Regions from separate parts of the Homo sapiens genome. Here regions 2 and 3 are each linked to region 1. Evidence: promoter capture Hi-C in 16 types of primary human blood cells and fetal thymus (Javierre and others, 2016). All regions are on one chromosome and are shown on one strand. The core of a region is centred on a gene start or on the middle of the fragment in contact, and the rest is flanking DNA. Distances in the headings are between cores, read along the strand shown.

What was found. Contacts are between HindIII fragments. The CHiCAGO score rates a contact against its expected background, and 5 or more counts as called.
Region 2: a fragment that was not itself captured here is called in contact with the fragment with the promoter of RPS6 in region 1 in 9 of 17 cell types (total CD8 T cells, non-activated CD4 T cells, erythroblasts and 6 more); the score reaches 11.0 in total CD8 T cells.
Region 3: a fragment that was not itself captured here is called in contact with the fragment with the promoter of RPS6 in region 1 in 15 of 17 cell types (erythroblasts, activated CD4 T cells, fetal thymus and 12 more); the score reaches 13.5 in erythroblasts.

Annotation. Positions count from the first base shown.
Region 1 is chr9:19,378,388-19,381,877 of GRCh38, reverse strand. It overlaps RPS6 (ribosomal protein S6), which reads left to right and starts at 1,642. Exons shown (of 6, transcript NM_001010.3): 1 at 1,642-1,688; 2 at 2,260-2,391; 3 at 2,960-3,170; 4 at 3,364-3,490. The coding sequence starts at 1,683. RefSeq lists an enhancer at 1,128-2,327. The HindIII fragment of the contact is 12,269 bases long and covers 1-3,490 here.
Region 2 is chr9:19,083,015-19,086,410 of GRCh38, reverse strand. It overlaps HAUS6 (HAUS augmin like complex subunit 6), which reads left to right. Exons shown (of 17, transcript NM_017645.5): 8 at 3,368-3,396. Among named protein-coding and RNA genes, the nearest start is that of HAUS6, 18 kb to the left of the region's middle. The HindIII fragment of the contact is 3,053 bases long and covers 511-3,396 here.
Region 3 is chr9:19,062,824-19,066,030 of GRCh38, reverse strand. HAUS6 (HAUS augmin like complex subunit 6) reads left to right here. Exons shown (of 17, transcript NM_017645.5): 13 at 2,451-2,517; 14 at 2,838-3,023. It also overlaps SCARNA8. Among named protein-coding and RNA genes, the nearest start is that of RRAGA, 15 kb to the right of the region's middle. The HindIII fragment of the contact is 222 bases long and covers 1,241-1,462 here.

The DNA of each region.
Region 1 (3,490 bases), core at 393-2,892:
TGCTCAACATCATTAGTCATTAGGGAAATGCAAATCAAAACCACAATGAGTCTCAGCTACTCCAGAGGCTGAGACAGGAGGATGCTGGAGGCCAAGAGTTCCAGACCAACAGGATCTCACTTTGAGCAACAAAGCGAGACCCTGTCCCTACAATAAATTTTTAAAAAATTAAAAAAATAACAAGTGTTGGCCATGATTTTGATAAAGTGCGGTCCTCATACATTGCCGGTGGGAATGTAAAATGGTTCAGCTGCTTTGGAATACAGTTTCAGTTTCTCCCTGAGTTGAGAATAGAACTACTATATGACCCAGCAATTTCACTCTTAGGTATATACCTAAAATAATTTAAAACAAGTACTCAAACATAGAAGAACTATTTACAGTAGTTAAAAGGCAGAAACAACCCAAATGTCTATTTATGGAGGAATGGATAAACAAACTGCAGTCTATATCTACACTAGAATATTGAGCCATAAAAGCAGTGAAGTACTGATACATGCTACGACTCAAAAGATTAGAAGACAGATACAAAAGGTCAATATTGTATGATTCCATTTTTATGAAGTAGGTACATCCACTGAGACAGAACACAGATTGGTGGTTGCCAGGCCTGGTCGAAATGGGGAAGGGGCAGCAACTGCTTTAACAGGGTACAGGGTTTTCTTTTAGGATGATGAAAATGTTTTGGAACTGTATCGATAGAGATGGTGGTTGTACAGCATTGTGAATGTACTAAATGCCACTGAATTGTTCACTTTAAAATGACTAGTTATGTCAATTTCACCTCAACAAAAAAATGACACACAGTACTCAGATTTTAAAAAGCATCATTTCACCAAGATTCCATGAATTAATGTGAGATGATCAAAGAGGATTCAGTAGAATCGTTCAACTTCGAATGTAAAACAGTCCTAAACTCAAACCTTTGTGACACTAAAGTGGGGAGATGGTATGTGATAGTTTTAGATAGTAAAAATTATTCTTGTTTACTTGGTCTCGAACTCGAACTTTTTTGAGGCGGAGTCTCTCTCTGTCGCCTGGGCTGCAGTGCAGTGGTGCGATCTGGACTCATTGCAACCTCCGCCTCTTGGGCTCAAGCGATTGTCGTGCCTCAGCCTCCCTAGTAACTGGGACTACAGTCGCCCCCCACCACGCCTGGCTATTTTACCTATTTTTGGCTATTTTACCTATTTTTATTAGAGACGGAGTTTCGCCATGTTGGCCAGGCTGGTCTCGAACTCCTGACCTAAGATGATCCGCCCGCCTCGGCCTCCCAAAGTGCTGGGATTACAGGCGTGAGCCACCGCGCCCGGCCTTGCCCTCCTATTTTGGTACCGTCAGATGCAAAGTGCCTGGGACAGAAGTGGGGCTCCGCTGGCGCCCAGCTCCAAAACCCAGGCAGCGTGGAAAAGACTAGACAGGGAAGGGGTTAGCCCTCAGAATTACACGCGGGTTTGCCTTACCAGACTACCACCACTGGCACAACCTCAGACCCACACCCAACCGACTTTACCTCCCAGGCCCTGATTAATCTCGCCCGGAAGTACCGCCCACCCATGCTCACTTCCGCTATCCCGTACTTCTGCTCATCTCGCGAGAACTGAAAGCGCCTATGTGACCTGCGCTAAGCGGAAGTTGGCCCTCTTTTCCGTGGCGCCTCGGAGGCGTTCAGCTGCTTCAAGATGAAGGTAGGTGATGGTGGCGAGTGTTAGACTGGGTTTGGGGAACGTGAATCGAGTCCCAGAACGCGGCATTGCCTCAGTTCCAGCACTCCAGGATCCTGGCTTTAGGTGGAGAAGGGTCTCAAGTAGGAGAAGGCTCGCCTTTCTGGGGCATGGAGCTTTTTGGCCGAACGGATGGCAGGCGATTGCGGCTGGAGCCGCGGCGGGCCGGGAGCGCCATGGTGGCGTCCCCGCGCCCAGCCGGGACGGATGCGGCGTGTTGCCCAGTTTGCGGCAGGCCTGTGGTGCGGCTCTTGACCCCGGCTTTCTTGCTTCGGGAGGGTGAACGGCTGCGGAGTGCCCTCGCCCCCAGAGTCATTCCGCGGGGCTTGAGGGGAAAACGTCCTGCTGAGTGCGGCGCTTCTTGACTGCTACTCTGCTTTCACGTGCTTTTAGTGAGTACAGTCGGCATCTTATATTTCCTGCTTGTGTGGAGGCAACATGAAAGGCTTTTTGCAGTGGAATTAACTTTGTAGATGGCTCTACAATTACCTGTATAGATAGTTTCGTAAACTATTTCCCCCCTTTTAATCCTTAGCTGAACATCTCCTTCCCAGCCACTGGCTGCCAGAAACTCATTGAAGTGGACGATGAACGCAAACTTCGTACTTTCTATGAGAAGCGTATGGCCACAGAAGTTGCTGCTGACGCTCTGGGTGAAGAATGGAAGGTAAAAGTTGACAAATTGTTGCAGGTATTTAAGTCAGAGACGGTAAACGCCATTGGTAACTGGTATTTGGAATGGGGTTCAGACTCCGGGTTCTGGCTTCTGACCTTTGGTAAGTTGCTTCCGAATGCCACTTTATAAAGTTAGAGGTATTACCTTGGAGGGGGGGACGTAGAGTAAGCCATAAAATATACGTAAAGTTTACATCAACATAATTCTTGCCCTGCATCATGCATTTGGCAATATGTCACATAGCTGTCCTCATAATCCCCAAAGTGCCAAAAAGGGTTGTATCTGATTTGTTTGTTGCTGTTTGATATTTTATCTTCTTAGTGCTGTTATCTCTAATAAAACATCGGTTAGAAATGCGACTTGAAAGACATTTGATAATTGAACTTGACAAGTTGGGAATATAGACAAAACTCACTGAACAGAGAAAACGTGCTTAAGTTCAAATTGGTTTTCATAATTATACTTTCTCATATAGGTGTGTTCACAGAGGTCACAATCCTGTACTGTATAATTTTGGAATAGAAATAGTAAATGTGTCATTCATTGTATGCTCTTGCAGGGTTATGTGGTCCGAATCAGTGGTGGGAACGACAAACAAGGTTTCCCCATGAAGCAGGGTGTCTTGACCCATGGCCGTGTCCGCCTGCTACTGAGTAAGGGGCATTCCTGTTACAGACCAAGGAGAACTGGAGAAAGAAAGAGAAAATCAGTTCGTGGTTGCATTGTGGATGCAAATCTGAGCGTTCTCAACTTGGTTATTGTAAAAAAAGGTGAGGGTTACTTGTGTTCAATTTTCGTTGAAATTGATTTAAAGCCAGTTGTCCAAATGCTTATTCATTTGCAGTATCCAGACTTACAGACCAATGGATTTGTTTCTCTACCATCAATTCAACATTAAACATTCTGATTTAGGATTCTTAAGGAAGTTGTTGAATTAAAATCTCTTCAACTGTTTCTTCTAAGGAGAGAAGGATATTCCTGGACTGACTGATACTACAGTGCCTCGCCGCCTGGGCCCCAAAAGAGCTAGCAGAATCCGCAAACTTTTCAATCTCTCTAAAGAAGATGATGTCCGCCAGTATGTTGTAAG
Region 2 (3,396 bases), core at 788-3,287, 300 kb after region 1:
GAGCTCAGATGATCTGCATGCCTTGGCCTCCCAAAGTGCTGGGATTACAGGCATGAGCCACCGCGCCCAGCCTCCCTTCCCCTTCCCCCTCCCCTCCCCCTTTTGAGATGGAGTCTCACTCTCCCAGGCTGGAGTGCAGTGGCGTGGTCTCAGCTCACTGCAACCTCCACCTCCTGGGTTCAAGCAATTCTCCTGCCTCAGCCTCCCTAGTAGGTGGGATTACAGGTGTGTGCCAATATGTGCAGCTGATTTTTGTATTTTTGTAGAGATAGGGTTTCGCCATGTTGGCCAAGCTGGTCTTGAACTCCTGACCTCAGGTGATCTGCCCGCCTCAGTCTCCCAAAGTGCTGGGATTACAGGCATGAGCCACTGCGCCCGGTCCCCTTTCTTTTTATAGTACTATTACTTTTTTTTTTTTTAAAACTCATAGGTTGTATATATAAAGATATTGATAGAGTGCCTCTAAAACACTTGAATATAATGGAAAAATGAACTTATAGTTCATAAGCTTAATTATATTCAAAAGGGTTTTTAGACATGATTAATTTGAAATTCTCCACCCCAGTACAAAAAGCTCTGCTTGATTGTAGTATAACCTAGTCAGTGGTATTAATTTATCTAAATAAAATGGATTAACTGAAGGGAGATGTTAAGTATGAAAGGAAAATGAGGAATCAAAATGAGTCTGGTTTGGCAGGAGGGAGGATTCTGACAAATGAAAATGATCTGAGGCCTCCAGAGTTTGGCTTTGATGTGAGTTAAGTATTTTCTTAGGTTTTCTTTTTTTTTTTTTTTGGATAAAATCTCTCTCAAGCTCTTTGTTGTGATTCTGTGATTGCCATGCCAAGCTGCTGTGGGTATAAATTTGGCTTCCAAGGCACATTGTCACCTGTAAAGGTTAGCGCCCTCTTCAGGAAATATTTTTATTCAGTGAATGTATTGATCATCTGATATGTGCTAGGTATCTCGTAGACATTAGGGCTACAACAATGAGGAGAACAGGCAAGGCAAAGTCACTTCCTTCATGGAATTTTCCATTTAATGAATCTCTGATTGCAAATTATATAATTAAAATAATTTGCAGAACCTATTAAAGTTTTCACATCAGTCTCTTCTGAGTTTGGTTCATATTTGTTTTCCCTGAGTACAGTCAACTTTGAGCCATTGTCAAGATAAAAATCTAGACTTGGAAAATATGAGAACCAGATCCTGGACAATTACAGATTCATCAAGGAAATGCCATTCTGTGAGACCTCTAGACTGCTAGCCAATGAGTCTTCCTTTGGGAACAACTTTACCTTGCCATACAACATGTCAGAGATATTTAGGGTGGCACACACCTATAGTTTCACCTACTCAGGAGGCTGAGGCAGGAGGATTGTTTGAGCCCAGGAGCTCAAGGCTGCAGTGTGCTCTGGTTGTGCCAGTGGACTGTAGCCTGGGCAACAGAGCGAGACCCGTCTTAAAAAAGAAAAAAAAAAGAGGCGGGGGTACAGTGGCTCACGCCTGTGAGCACTTTGGGAGGCCGATATGGTTGGATCACTTGAGGCCAGGAGTTTGAGGCCAGCCTGGCCAACATGGTGAAACCCTGTCTCTACCAAAAATAAAAAAGTAGTCTGGTGTGGTGGTACTCACCTGTAGTCCCAGCTATTTGGGTGACTGAGGCACAAGAATCACTTGAACCTGGGAGGCAGAGGTTGCAGTGAGCCAAGATTGTGCCACTGCACTCCAGCCTGGGTGACAGAGTGAGACCTTGTTTCAAAAAAAAAAAAAAAGAAAAAAGAAAAAAAGTGAACTAATTAGAGATATTTAATATTGTATTTTTATCGTGCAGGAAGAACATGTGTATAATTATATTTCTCCACCTCCCTCCCTCTTTTGTAAATTCTGTTAATGCATAACATATATACAAGAAATGTGTAACTCATAAGTATATAGCTTGACAAATTTTCACAAAGTGAACAAGTCCATGTAACCATCATCATTTAAGGAATAGGATGTTACCAGCACCCTAGAATCCTCCTTGAACCTGTTTAGTTTACACTGTTTGCCCCCACGGGGAAACAGTGCCCTCACATGTTACACTAAAGATTAGTTTTGCCTGTTTTTGAACTTCATATAAATGCCAGTATATAGAATATATTCTTTTGTGTCTGACTTTGGCTCAACATTGTTTATGATATTTATCCATGCTGTTGTGTGTAATTGTAGTATGTTTATTCTCATTGCTGCTTAGTGTTCTATTTTATGAATATAGCACCAATGTACCCTTTTTACTCTGGATGGACCTTTGGATTGATTCTACTTTTTGATTGTTACAAATAGACATTCTATGAGTATTCTTTTTTTTTTTTTTTTTGCAAGGATCCTGGGCTTAAGGGATCCTTTTACCTCAGCCTTCTGAGTAGCTGGGATTACAGGTATGCGCCACTGTGCGTGCCTAAATATTCTTGTATATCAATTTTAATGAATATAGATTAGTATATGCCTAAGATTTTTTGCTTTTAATGAGGCATAATTTTTTACACTTTAACTTCCTCAAACTGAATGACTTAAAATTGAGATGTAGTAGTTTTTTTCTCTTGAAAAAAAATTTTTTTTTTTTTTTTGAGATGGAGTCTTGCTCTGTCCCCTAGGCTGGAGTGCAGTGGCGCGATCTTGGCTTACTGCAAGCTCCGCCTGCCGGGTTCACACCATTCTTCTGCCTCAGCCTCCCGAGTAGCTGGGATTACAGGCACCTGCCACCACGCCTGGCTAAGTTTTTGTATTTTTATTAGAGACGGGGTTTCACCGTGTTAGCCAGGATGGTCTCTATCTCCTGACCTCGTGATCTGCTTGCCTCGGCCTCCCAAAGGGCTGGGATTACAGACGTGAGCCACTGCGCCCGGCTTCTCTTGAAAAATTTTTAAAATTATTTCTCCCTGAATGATCTTCATTCGATTAATTACATGTCAGCATATAGAAAATGCTAATTGTATCTTGTATAAGATTTCTTAGATTTGGAGCTGGGTGCAGTGGTGCGTGCCTGTAGTCCCAGCTACTTGGGAGGCTGATGTGGGAAGATTGCTTGAGCCCAGGAGTTTGAGTCTGGCCTGGGCAACATAGTAAGACCCCATCTCTGAAAACAAAAAAATTCTTAGATTTGTTTGAAAATTATAGTGAGCTAGATTCTCCTGATACATTTTTTTAAAAATTCCCTTTGGAAATAATATCCAAAGGGACTTTTAAACTATTAAAGTATAATTATTTAATTTTCTTACTAGAAATCATTCTAGGAAATTTGTTACTAAGAGTGAACATACATTTACATTTTTAAAATATGTACAGATTATGTGTGGACTTTAATATTTTGTTTCTGTTTCCAAAGGTTCGGTCTTTGTGGGCTTCAGTGAATGA
Region 3 (3,207 bases), core at 102-2,601, 320 kb after region 1:
CCAGGAGGCGGAGGTTGCAGTGAGCCAGGATCCCGCCACTGCACTCCAGTGTGGGCGACAGAGTGAGAGTCTGTCTCAAAAAAAAAAAAAAAAAATTTTTGGCTGTGATCAAAGGATGGATACAATCTAAATACAAATTTTAAAATGCAGAATTCTAAAGTACAAAATTTTATTCATTAATTTATTTTTGAGGCGGAGTTTCGTTCCTGTTGCCCAGGCTGGAGTGCAATGGCACGATCTCGGCTCACTGCAACTGCTGCCTCCTGGGTTCAAGCGATTCTCTTGCTTCAGCCTCCCGAGTAGCTGGGATTACAGGCGCCCATGACCACACCTGGCTAATTTTTGTATTTTTAGTAGATATGGGGTTTCATCATGTTGGCGAGGCTGGTCTTCAACTCCTGACCTCAGGTGATCCGCTTGCCTCAGCCTCCCAAAGTGGTGGGATTACAGGCGTGAGCCACCGCGCCCAGCCCAAAATTTTAAAACATTAACATAGTATAAACGGTTGTGATTTTTTTTTGGCTGTCTGTATGTTTAAATAACATATTAACCAATTTTCATTGATAATAGCTTTGTAACACTACATTTATTTGTAGACTTGAATTTTCTCTCAATTTTATTTTTTACTACTATAAAAAGTGTGTTCCTCTTTTTTCTCTCTGTTCTTCCCTTAGGATAAATTTCCACAAGGGGATCACCATCCTTCTGTTTTGTTACAGTGCTAGGATTTCATAGGCCTCAATCTTGGCATGGCAAATGGACGAAGTATAAAGACTGAGCCAGGGCTGCTTTAAACTTGTCTTAGATTATGATGTTAGCAGGTTTAATAGCATGTTGCCAGTTCAGAAATGAGAGAGGGGAGGGTACAGAATGTTTCCATTGTTCTCTGCTATAAGGTTCCACAAGAATCATTCAAATGGAAACACTTGTCACCTATAGAACCCCATTCTCAAGTGGCATTTACTCATCGATTCCATCAATCCATCAAATAGTTAACATGTATGTATTGCACTACCAACCACTGTGTTAGCCTCTGGGAATAGCCTTAGGGAAAGACATAGCCTTTGTCCTTACCTTCTTGTGGTGGTGGCACCTTAGTGGCATTGGTCCATAGATTGCTGGCTCTGTTTCAGGGGGCTTTTTGATAATTTTAATGTTAAGTTTCCCTCAAAATCTAGTAGATGATCAATTCTTTGCCTTTGATATCTGGATTATATTTTGTCAATGCTACGTTGAAGCTTGAGTGATTGCAGTGATTTTGAATTATGTTTGGAACGTAGGCAAAGACTCTAAGAGTGCATATTTGAAAAAGTTTGAAAATTACATTTACTATGATATAAAATATTTGCAGTGCTATTAATTTTGTACTTCTAGTTATAAGAAGAAAGGAAAGTACCAACATGCATGCTGTTGAAAGCAGTCTTTGATAATCCTGTCTTATAGTAACTAGAGTAGAAAAGCTTTAGGCTTTTAACTTTTAAAGGTTTTTAAGACCAAAGTAAAAAAGTTACCATTTCTTTGAAGATTTTAGAATTTAATAACATTTTATAATTAGCATGAAAAGCTGCATAAATTTTAATATTTATCCAAAAGGGCAAGGGAATACAAAAGATTAACAAATACAACAGAATGTGGCAAACTAAAACTCTGACCTTATGACATTACTGTGAAACTGTAACATGTTTGCTATAGAGTAAAATTTAGCATATGAGAAATTGATTTTGGATATGAAGTATCAAGAGAATCTTAAAAATAAGTCTGCTGGGCCAGGTGTGGTGGCTCACACCTGTAATCCTAGGACTTTGGGAGGCCAAGGTGGGCGGATCACCTGAGGTCGGGAGTTTGAGACCAGCCTGACTCACATGGAGAAAGCCCATCTCTACTAAAAAGACAAAATTACTCAGGTGTTGTGGCGCATGCCTGTAATTCCAGCTACTCAGGAGGCTGAGGCAGGAGAATCGCTTGAACCTGGGAGGCGGAGGTCGTGGTGAGCCAAGATCGCGCCATTGCACTCTAGCCTGGGCAACAAGAGCGAAACTCCGTCTCAAAAAAAAAAAAAATAAAATAAAGGATCTGCTACAAAGAAACTGTGATTTGGAACCTGTGACATTGTAATAATGCAGTTCTAGTTAATTGAATCTGTTTTTAACCTGTGTTCAAGTTGTGGAGTATTCATTAAGTCACTTAACTCTTTCAAATCAAAATATTGTTGACTCAGTATGTGGTAAGTAAAGTCTTCATAATTGGGAGGCTGATACACAAATTGGGCTGAAATACTGCTCTACTTGTCACCATGCCTCCCTAGAATAAACTGCCTTTTGATGACCGGGACGAATTGAGTGAAATCGTAACGGACAGATACGGGGCAGACAGATTTTAGAATAGACTCGTAAAGGGAATGGAATTCTTTTCTCCTTATAACTTGGATTTGTTGTCTTTTTTCCTTTTAGCCCTGCCTCTTTCTTGTCGCAGTCAGTTTCATCATCAGATAGAAACAGTGTTACAGTACTTGAAAAGGTATATTTTAAAATAAGTCTCAATTAATTCTGGACCATACTAAATTATAAAATATTATTTATTTTTGTTGATACCACAGTTAAATTTAATTTCTAATTTCACATTTTCTACTATTTGTACATTTTGTACCATATCTACTTATATTCCTTATTGCTAAGTGGGAATATTGGAATTAGTTAATTCTGCCAGTGACATACAATTTCACAATAGTATTAACAACCTTTTATAGGTTCATGATAACCAGTGAACTGCTAATGAAGACAGCTTCAGGATCAGCCATGATTATTAAGGGTTTAACATTACATATCTGTCTTCTTCAGGACACAAAGATGGGAACTCCCAAAGAAAAAAATGAAGCAATTTCTAAGAAAATACCAGAATTTGAAGTGGAAAATTCTCCATTATCAGATGTTGCAAAGAATACAGAGAGTAGTGCATTTGGAGGGTCTTTGCCAGCTAAAAAAAGTGATCCATTTCAAAAAGAGCAAGATCATCTGGTAGAAGAGGTGAGAAAAGACTGTAATGAGTATACTTAAATATCAGTTATTGGATGGGCACAGTGGCCCATGTCTGTAATCCCAACACTTGGGGAGGTTTCGGCAAGAGGAACATTTGAGCCCAGAAGTTCGAGACCAGCATGGGCAACATGGCGAAACCCATCTCTACAAAAAAATTAAAAAAACAGTTGAG